Regions from separate parts of the Homo sapiens genome. Here region 2 is linked to region 1. The links are contacts of gene promoters, found by promoter capture Hi-C in human tissues and cell types (Jung and others, 2019). All regions are on one chromosome and are shown on one strand. Each heading gives the region's core, a stretch centred on a gene start or on the middle of the fragment in contact. The rest is flanking DNA. Distances are from core to core; before and after follow the strand shown.

Region 1 (5,049 bases), core at 1,417-3,916:
AAGATCACCTTGGCTGCAGTGCAGGGAAGAGATTTTGGACAAGTCTAAGGCTCCAGGCATGGTGGGCGGGGGGGAATGACAAGAGCAAATCAGAGACAAGAACTACATTTGACTCTTGAACAATGTGGGGGTTAGGGGCACGGAGCCCCGAAGTCAAAAATCCACATATAACTTTTGACTCACCTAAAACTTCACTAATATAGCTTACTGTTGGCTGGAAGCCTTACCAATAATGTAAACAGTTGATGAACAAATATTTTGTACATTACATGTATTACATACTGTGTCCCAGCAATAAATTAAGCTAGAGAAAAGAAAATGTTACTATGAAATCATAAGGAAGAGAAAATATATTTACTATTCACTGAGTGAAAGTGGATCATCATGGTCTCCATCCTCACGGTCTTCCTGATGAGTATGCTGAGAAGGAAGATGAGGAGGAGCTGATCCTGCTGCTCAGCGGTGGGAGAGATGAGAAAAAAATCTGCCTGTAAATGGACTCACAAGGTTCAAACCCATGTTGTTCAGGGGTCAACTGTAATACTGCCTGAAGACCTGCTCAACATCAGGCCACTTTACATATAAGTAGTTCATCCCATTGAGATGCAAAAGTATCCCATCAGGTAGACAGTACTGGTCTCACTCAACAAATGAGAAACAGGCTCAGAGAGGTTAAGCGACTTGCCCAAGGTCACACAGCCTGCACACAGCCTGCGCAGAACTTGTGTTTTTCCCTTGTACTCTGTCAGGCTTCCGATCTGCAGGTTGACGGACTGGGAAGCAAGGTATGGAGGGACATTAAGCTAGAAGGGTTACCAGGGGCAAAACTGGGCAGAGGGATCACAGGCCAGGCTAAGGAGCCCTTTACGGTTCAGGCTCTGAAGGTTTAAGAGCAGGGAGATGCCCTGACCAGGGCCGTTCACTACGAAGATTAACCTGGTAGAGCAGGGAGGACTAGCTAGGTGAGAGCTGGGAAACAGGGGAGCTACTCATCAGTTGTCTAATATGTGCCCCTCTCTGTTCTAGGTCCTGGAGTACCAGTAGTGAATACAACAAAGATGCCTGCCCTCAGACAGCCTGCCTTCTAGTGGAGGGACAACAAAGAGCAAAACAAACAAGCAAAATATACAGTAGGTCAGAAGGGGATAAGAACTGTTGGAAAAAAAAGTAGAGCAAGGTGAGTGGCTTGTTTGTACTGGGGGCTGCAATACTTAAATAGGGTGCCTAAGAGGAGGCAGGCGGAGAGGACAACTGAGACAAAGATGAGAGGCAGGAGTGTGGCTGGCACATGAGGTTCAACCACAAAGCCAGTGTTCTGGGGCTGGAGTGAGCCAGACGAGAGAAGAGTTGTGGAGCGATGGAAGGGGACACGTCGTGCCAAGCTTTGGAGATCACAGTGAGAACTCTGGCTCGTACTACTTGGGGGGATGATGATGACCCAAAAGTCAGGAATCTGTTCACTGCTGAAGAGAGAAGAGGGCAAAGGGCAGCAGCTCCATTTAAAAGGTTCTAATAAGCCTCGGGCCTTTCTCTGTCTGAGAAACTTACTCTCTGCCCTCTGTCTCCCTAGATTACTGCCCCTATGCCTGGAGGAAAAACAGGTGAAGGCTAAAAGCCACGGGGATAGCTAAAGAGGGCAAACTGGACCTCCAGCTCCACTTCTGCAGGTCTATGTCAGTCCACAGCCCTTGCACACGCTCCCTTTTAATTCTCCAAGCATACCTCTCACTTCCAAAACTCCTGTGACTCTGCTGATGAGGGCGTCTCGGCCTGGAATGCTCCTCCTTATCTGCATTGTGTGGGTGTCAAAAAGAGTATATTTTGATGACCTCTCCCCGCCCCTCATGCTCGCTCACATCCCCCTCACTCCTTTCAAAGTCCGTTCCCAAAGGCCCCAGTTCACCGTCCTGGGCTGCTTTTAGCCAGGTAAGATCTAAAGTGATCCTCTCTTGGAACCTGGTCTGGGGCCTATACATCTGGGTCAGTCTAGGGGTGCTCTCGAAGGGCCACCCTCAAAGAGCGAGCCTCGGCTGGATTCAGTTCCTAGGTCCCAGCCGTCCGACCTCTGCGACAACACTCAGCACACCCCTTCCCCTCTCCGGGTCTCAGTTGCCCCGTGAGTACAGTCCCTGCTCCAACACGCAAGGTAATCGTTTCTGGCTGCTCTGATGCACTCGGTCCCTAAACTCAGCCTTAGGTCAACCCAGAAAGCACCCGACCCGGGCGACCCCGTAGCTCCCCACCCTCCCGCACTGCCCAGTCGCTGACACAGGGTGACCTCCAATGGCAAGGCCACGACTCTTACCCGTCCGTAGGCGCCCCCCTGTCTGGCCTCAGCTCGCAAGCAGGCTGCACCCACTGAACTCCAGGCCCGGACCGCCACCCTTTACTCCCCTCCCGCGTGAGCCGAGAATCAGCCGAGCTTCCTCCACCAAGAGGATTGGCCCAGCTCGGCGACGACTCAGCCAATTGGCGCTCACGGCGTGATCTTGCCCAATAAAGACGGGGCTCTGTCGCCAGCGTGCCCCTCCCCGCGCTGGGCCGGGGCTTTGCCAGGTTAGTCCCACCCTCTTCGGCCCTGCACCAATAGGGAGAGGCGGCGACGAGCGGACGGCCAATGGGGAGCGGGGCTGCGCGCGCGGGGCGGTGGGAACGGCGCCGAGTCAGTGTACACGTCGGTTGCCTAACAACCGGCAGCGGACTCCTTTGGCTATGGTGAGTGCTGCCGCTCTGTCGCGCCCCACGCCCAGCGGCTGAGCCCTTCCCAGGCCCCAGCTCGGCCACGCCGCCTCTCCTGCGCCTTTCTCGGCTTTAGCGCACCAGTCTTTCCTTTGAGCTCTTTCCCGGGAGAGTAGGGTACAGACGCTAACCAACCTACTGGGCCTGCGCTTCGCTGCTGCCTCCTCTTCACCCACAACAGGCCCACACCCGCCCCTCGGGCTCCCCTTGCATTCCCTGATCCCCTCGGTGAACCTCCCTGGGCAAAAAAGACTCGAATCCCTCACAGGCCCCTGACTCTCTCAGACCTTGGCCCCCTGGCCTCCTCATTCTGCCAAAATTTCCACACACAGCTGGGAAAAGGTGTATCGTGTTCTGTTACAATGTTTTTTACAATTTAAATACAGGGGCATTCAGGGGATGCTTTAGCTTCTTGGAGAAGGCACGAAGGTGCCAGATGGATTGAGTTTTATTACTCGGTACTGACACAATATACATCTTAACAACTTACTAATATTTGGCCAAATCTAGAAGTAATTGGGAAGTCGGAGTACTTACTGGGAAGGGGAGTACTGGGAGTGGGCATCGTAAGACTGTTTTCAGAACCAGGATCCCCACGTTCGGGAAGAGCTGATTATCTCTAGTTATTCACAGTCATCTTCTTGACTGGCTCTCTTTTGGGATGATTTTCAGTAAGAGGTGTCCTTACTGAACAAGTGATCTCCCTGCTTCTAGAAACAACAGTAAAGAAAAGGGAGGGGTAGAAGTTCATGGAAAGATTCATTGTTCTTGCCAGTAAACCCTGTTATCTTTCTTTTTAAGCAAAGCTTTGGAATTGGTTATATAAATGACTTTAAAAATACATATGGGTGTCTGTAACTATGTTATGTAAATATGGACTGTATGATATATTATTGTGCTTGTGTATTGCATAACATATAAAGGCCTCCAACTTTAAGAAGGCAAACATGGCATCAAGTTCTCAGCGAAAAAGAATGAGCCCTAAGCCTGAGCTTACTGAAGAGCAAAAGCAGGAGATCCGGGAAGCTTTTGATCTTTTCGATGCGGATGGAACTGGCACCATAGATGTTAAAGAACTGAAGGCAAGCTCTGTGCATTCCTGCCGTACTGCCCTTCCTTTCCTCTGCCTCTTCCTTGTCATCTCCCTATCACCTCTCTACCCCTTTTGCCCTCTTCTCCCTGCAGTAAGTAACAGGGGAGGTTGTACTGTGCTGTTTTCCTGTCTTTACTTACTTTGAGTATTATTCAATAAAATTGATTGCAAATATCAATTAGATCAATGTCATAGTGTTCCCCAATCATATTAACATGACCACATCAGATGCTGGCTTAATGCTCTCAACACTGTTATTTTTGCTCCTGCTACTTTAGATGTGCTTATTGAGACGATCCTGTTTTCTTTATAGGTGGCAATGAGGGCCCTGGGCTTTGAACCCAAGAAAGAAGAAATTAAGAAAATGATAAGTGAAATTGATAAGGAAGGGACAGGAAAAATGAACTTTGGTGACTTTTTAACTGTGATGACCCAGAAAATGGTAAGTAGCTAAGACAATTATCATGGTATGGAGCCCCAGTCATCTGCAGAGGTCCATGGCGTCTTCCTGTTAAAACAGTCATGTGACCACAGAGCAGTCCAGGTAGCAACTGCATCAGGAGGCCTGCCCTCCCATCATGTTACTTTGGGCTCCCAAAACAAGCCCTTGTGCTTCTTTCTCAAGACTTCCAAGCAGATACCTCTTCCCACAGAATTCCAAATCAGTTAGGAAATAGATATGGGATAGGGAGAGATATAGCGATAGGTAGCAAACGTCACCTTGGATGGAGTGCCTGGCTTGCCTGGTGTTTCTTTGAGGCCAAAATGGGCTTCCTGACACTTGCCGCAAGTCTAGACTCGAGTTACATTGTTAAAAAGGAAAGGGTGACCTGACCAGGCAGTGGCAGGGCTACAGGACAGTAGTAACCAACCGTGGTGTCCCCCTACTCATGTGTTTTATGTTCTACTTGTTAAGTCTGAGAAAGATACTAAAGAAGAAATCCTGAAAGCTTTCAAGCTCTTTGATGATGATGAAACTGGGAAGATTTCGTTCAAAAATCTGAAACGCGTGGCCAAGGAGTTGGGTGAGAACCTGACTGATGAGGAGCTGCAGGTTTGTAATGCATCACACTGGAACTTAAAATTCCCACCTTTGAGCCCTCTGTGACTTTTCCATTACATTTTCCCTAGTGTGAGCACCTCTTTGAAGAAAAGCCAGTGTACTTTGTCCCTCTGCAGACAACTTAATTCTCCTTTAATAGTCAGACAAACCTATG
Region 2 (5,049 bases), core at 1,499-3,998, 67 kb before region 1:
GGCTGACCTCTGAGCCATTCTCTTAACCACTAGGCTATGAAGGTGCCACCCTCACCTGCCACACACCTGACCAGGTGTGGGACAGTTCAGCCCCTCCTCCTCTTCCCGGCCTTTGGAAGCAATGATGGCAACCTCTCCTGAGCATCTCTCAGGGACTGGTCCCCTGATGGCACTGCCCTTGTCTTGGCATCAGCCGGTTCACTATGGGCACAGTGGTAACGAATGCAAAGTCCCTGGACTGACCCTAAACATGAGAGCCCAAAGGCCCGGACTGCAAGGGGTTGCCGCACTGGAGAGCAGCTCTCCTCTCTGGCACTGGTCCTGTCCCATGCCGCCAGGGACTGGCAGTGGGGGCAGCCTCAGGGCTCAGCAACAGAAGGAAAGCTTGTGTTACATGTGACCTGGCACCTTATAAGTTGTGGCTTGAAGCAAAACCCGCACCAAAGGGGGCAGTCACCTGTGGAAGCTTGAGTAGGGAAGGAGGAAGGCAGGCTTCTGGCTTCCAGAATGCACCGAGCCAGAATTGGGGGAGTTTGCTTGGCATGCAACTGAAGACAGTTCAGGGAACAAGTGCCGATGCCTATCGTGGCCAGGTCCTGGGCCCAGTGCTAGGGACCCAGAGTCCCTGCCCTGCCAGATCTCAGGAGGCCTTGGGGACACTGGGCAGGAAGACAAGGAGCACAAGTCAGGCTGAGGGAGGCTGAGCTGAGGCGCTGGCTGCCCCTGGCATCACTGGCCTCACGTGGGAAAGGCTTTTTCTGGAGTCTGGACTTGAGCTGAGCAGGAAGTGAGGTGGACAAGCACTGCTGCCATTTGGATTCAGATGGCAACTTCTTACTGACAGATGGCCTCTCTGTCACTCCTCAGGGCAAGGCATGGAGCTGATTTCTCTGTGGGCCCCCATATGCAGGAGCTCAGCAAGAAGTGGTTTATGATCTTTCAGGAGTAACGGGGAGGTTAGACTCCAGCAGCTCCAAAGGACGTGCGGGCCTTGACCTGGTGGCTGCCGAGCTCCTCCTCCTGCTTCCAAGCCCTTCGCCTCCAGGAAGCCTTCCCTGATCTTCCCAGCCAGGGGTGCCTCGCTGCTCCAGGACTGAGGAACCCCTAATGTTTTCATGCTACTCGGAGCTGCAACATCCTAAGTGGTCCTGGGCCACCTCTGTTGCTTGAGTCATGAGTGTCCAGAGGATGGAAATGAACAGATCTTGAGCACCTGCTGCGTGTCTGGCCCTGCACTGAGTGCCTTCCATCAGCTCCACACGGCTGAATGCACAGCATCCAGCCAGGGGCTGGGAATTGCTGGAAGGAGGGGCAGGTGAGAGGGATCTGTTCCTTCCCATCCTGAAGTGGCCTGGGAGCGATGAGGGGAACAGCGGAGGCACCAAGGCCTGCCAGAAGGCTGGCCCCTCATCTGTGCATCTGTGTCTTGGCCACTTGCTGGCCTCTGAGCTGCCCCTTGTTTTTCAGATGAGGAGCGGAGGCCCTGGGAAGGCAGGACCTCTGCAGCTCTGTTCAGGCCTATCAACCTGTGCACCCCTGCCTCCCGCCCCCAGCCAGGTACGACAGCCAGAAGTCTGAAGGGCCATGAGACCAAGGCAGGACTTAGTCCAGGTACTGAAGCCTCAAGCACTGCTGGATGGGGTGTGAGAGGCCCTCTCTCGGGGCTCACAGCTTTGGGGCCTCCCATGATGCCAAGGCTTCGTGCCGACGGCTCAGCAAGAACACAACTCCTACCATGCCTCAGATGTCCCAAAGCCGGGACACACCCACCACCTACTTTATCTGAGTCCCCAGCAGCCCTGGGTGGGAGGCAGCTTGACGTGTCACCCCCTTAAACCGACAGAGTACCCAGGTGTCCCCAGCTCAGAAGTGGCAGATCAGGCAGGAGCACCTGAGCTTTCGGCCTTTTTGTAAGGCAAGGTATCCCTCTGCCTTTCCAAAGAGGACAGACTCTTGGCTCCCTCTGCCCCCATCAAAACAATCCAGCCACAGAGCTGGTGCAGTGCCGATCCTGTCGATAACACCCAGTGACACCTGATTCGGCGCCTTCTGTCTGAGTGTGAGCAGCCACCATCCTCATGGCCCTCCCCAAGATTGCCCTGTACCCAGCACATGCACCTCACAGGCCCCAGGGCGATTGAGGGGATCCTCTGGGTGAGCCAGCCTCTGGGTCTCAGTTTCCTCATCTATAAAATGGGCACAGGGGGACGGAGGGATATGAGATTCCCTGATTCTTAAAGGCCTGCAGTCAACTCTCAGAGCATCCTGGCCCCTCGCCGTTTACTAACAATTAAACCGTGTCTTTCCTAAAGGGCAAGACAGAGGGATCAGGCTGGCAAGGGGGACACTTGCCTCTGTAGGGGACGCTGGCCTCCTCTGCCTGTCAGTCTTTTCACTCACAGCGAAAACCAGAAATCCACTGACTCCCGGGGGGAACCCGAAGAGAGATGCTTGGAGCTGGTAAGGGTTATGGATGGGGAAACTGAGGCCCTGACTTGTCCCCAGCTGGGCACGGACTGGGTGCCCCCCACTGCCTCCAAGCAGGGCCGCATCCAATGGCGACTCGACAGCCCTACCTGGCACCGGTGCCCGGCTCGTGGGGCGGGTGGAGGGTCGGGCAGTCGCAGGGCGCGGGCTCCCTCGGGTGGACGGCGCCCGGCCGGGCCGGGCCGGGCCGGGGAGGCAGGCGCGGGGCGCGGGGCGCGGTGCACAGCGGGGAGCGCGCAGGGAGGCGAGGAGGCGCGGACTGGGCTCCGCCCGCAGGAGAACAAACAGGTTTTCTCCGGCCGCCCGGAGCCTCGCCCCTCGCCCCTCCCCTCGGCCGGCCCCTTCCTCTGCCCCTCCTGGGGTAGGTAGAGGCGCCTGGCACATTCCGCACATTCTCCCGCCAGCGTCCTCCGCCCGCCCGCCCCTTCTCGGCCCCGCCCCGCGGGGCTGCTGGAGAAATCAAGTCTGGGGCTCCCCTTGTCGAGCACGGGGCGAGCTCCAGAAGGCTCTGCCGTGATGGAAAACTTCCAGGCAAATTCCTCCGGGCCCGTGGCCCCCAGGCCGGGAAGCCTCCGCCACGTGAAGGGCCCCCGCTCCTAGTTGCGCGATCTGGCCCCGGCACAGGGCCAACGACTTCCACAGATGCTGTCGGGTTAATTCAGTCGAGAACTACCGTTCCTAGATCCATTTTACAGATGGAGATCCCAGACAGGGGCGGGGAGGGGGGCGGGGGGCTGGCGGCTGAGATCATCCAGGAAGTCCTGCAGGCAGGAAAGGAGGAGAAGAGTGAGGGAGCCGCTCATCGTGGAAGGCCATCCTGGGACGGACCCGGGGCTCACAAGGCACAGCAAACGGGGCTATCTCCCAGGCTGGGCGACGAGATACAGCCAGACTCCCAGAGCCAATGCGGTTTGATGTACCTGTGTCACGCGTTGGTGCTCACCGAGTGCTTTATTGTGTGCAAGGCCCTGGGCTGGGGCTAAGGATGGAGAGAGCATGGAGGAAAGACCCCTCACCCCACGGCCTCCCAAACAGGGAGACAATTAAGCCAGCCCAAGAAATGGCATGGACTTGGCCAGGAGTTGGCCTACCAGGGTGGTAGGCTCAAAAGAATGGACCAGCTGCTTCTCCTTCATCAAGGCCTGCCAATGTGGTGTTTCCATGGCCCTCCAGTCCACCCACTTCTCCCTGTGCCTGCTGCCACCACCCTAGTCCAGACCTGGCCCCGAAGACCAGCCTCCTTGCTGGTGTCCCCCTGCCTCTGGTCTTGCCTTCCTTTCCCTCAGTCTCTACACGGAGGTCAGGTTAAAAGTTCACGTGTGTCAATATGATCAGGTGCTCTCCTGCTTGCAACTCCTCCATGGCTTCCCATTGCTCTCAGGGTAAAAGCCAGACTCCTTGAGACGACCTATCCCTGCAGGTCCAGCCACTCTTCCCTTTGTTCAATACATTACAGCCACACTGGCCTTTTTCCATTGCCTTCTGAATACATCACATGGCGCTCACCTTGGGGTGTTTGCTCCTGCTCCTCGGACTCCCTAAAATGCTCTTCATCCCCGTCGGGCTAGTGAGCTCTTAGTCATTCTTCAAGCCTCCACCCAGTGTCCGGAAAGCCTCCCCTGCCTGCCACCCAGTCGAGCTGATCACTTCCTTCTGTGCACCCCTTAGTTCCCTCAGATGACATCAATCCAGCATAGTGGCTGTCACCCTCTATTGTTCTAGATCCTGAGCTCTGGGAGGGCAGGGCCCCTTCTGATTCATCACTGGGTCACGGAGACCAGCACAGGGCATCCGAAGAATTTGCAGAAGGAAGTGATGGATGGGTGAGTGAGGCTGTGGAAGCTGTCCTCATCCTTTTCTTCTTGGGGTTCATGAGATAGGGAGAAGGCGACCCTGTGTGTGCTTAGGGGGTTGTATATAAAGTCACTTCTGTTCATGTCCGTCTCTTGCCAACAAGCATTTTTCTGCTTCCAATATTGTATGCCCCTGTCTGGTGGCCAGCAACTAACACCTCCCCTCCTCCACTGTGGCTACTGGTGGCCATGGATTTGGCTTGGCATCTTACCTCCTAAACATGTTTACTGTATGACTTAGGCTGTGTCATACTCTTTGTCTGGGTCCCAGTCCTCTTCAAGAGCCCCTAGTTTGAAAGGGTAGAAGGTAGAAGACATCATGATGGGTGAGATGTAGGGCAAGGAAGAGGGAAAAGGCAAACTTGTTCAAGAGCCCTGAGTCAGGGGTGGGGGGCCCAGCTGGAGAGCATGAGCAAATGTGGTGTCCAACGGCACGGCCAGCAAGTGAGGACTGCCCCAGGCTGGGCCGCCCCAGGGCCTCAAGCTCTTCCCATGTCCCAGGTGACTCAGTCTCTGCCCAGGCCCGATCTGTCACGACTGCTCCAGCCAAAGAGATCAGCCTTCCCTGAACCCCTCCCTCCCTGCCAGGCTGCCAGGCCCTGCAGCTGATCTTGCCTGCAAACGGGTTTGACTTGAATGGTAACTGCCCTGCCCTGCCCTGCCCACCTGTCCATTGCCCCAACAGTCTTCCACTTCCACGCCTGCCAGG

Evidence for each region. The method cuts DNA at HindIII sites, captures the fragments that hold promoters and counts their contacts. A contact is called where the count stands out against the background at its distance.
Region 2: a contact is called between the fragment with the promoter of ZNF185 here and the fragment with the promoter of CETN2 in region 1, in 1 of the 25 tissues and cell types used here (adrenal gland).

The regions. Positions count from the first base shown.
Region 1 is chrX:152,828,374-152,833,422 of GRCh38, reverse strand. It overlaps CETN2 (centrin 2), which reads left to right and starts at 2,666. Exons shown (of 5, transcript NM_004344.3): 1 at 2,666-2,715; 2 at 3,663-3,821; 3 at 4,146-4,274; 4 at 4,749-4,886. The coding sequence starts at 2,713. NSDHL (NAD(P) dependent 3-beta-hydroxysteroid dehydrogenase NSDHL) reads right to left here and starts at 2,360. Exons shown (of 8, transcript NM_015922.3): 1 at 2,306-2,360. RefSeq lists a silencer at 2,427-2,766. The HindIII fragment of the contact is 5,705 bases long and covers 1-4,274 here.
Region 2 is chrX:152,895,766-152,900,814 of GRCh38, reverse strand. It overlaps ZNF185 (zinc finger protein 185 with LIM domain), which reads right to left and starts at 2,748. Exons shown (of 25, transcript NM_001395254.1): 1 at 2,577-2,748. RefSeq lists an enhancer at 2,996-3,496. The HindIII fragment of the contact is 26,007 bases long and covers 1-5,049 here.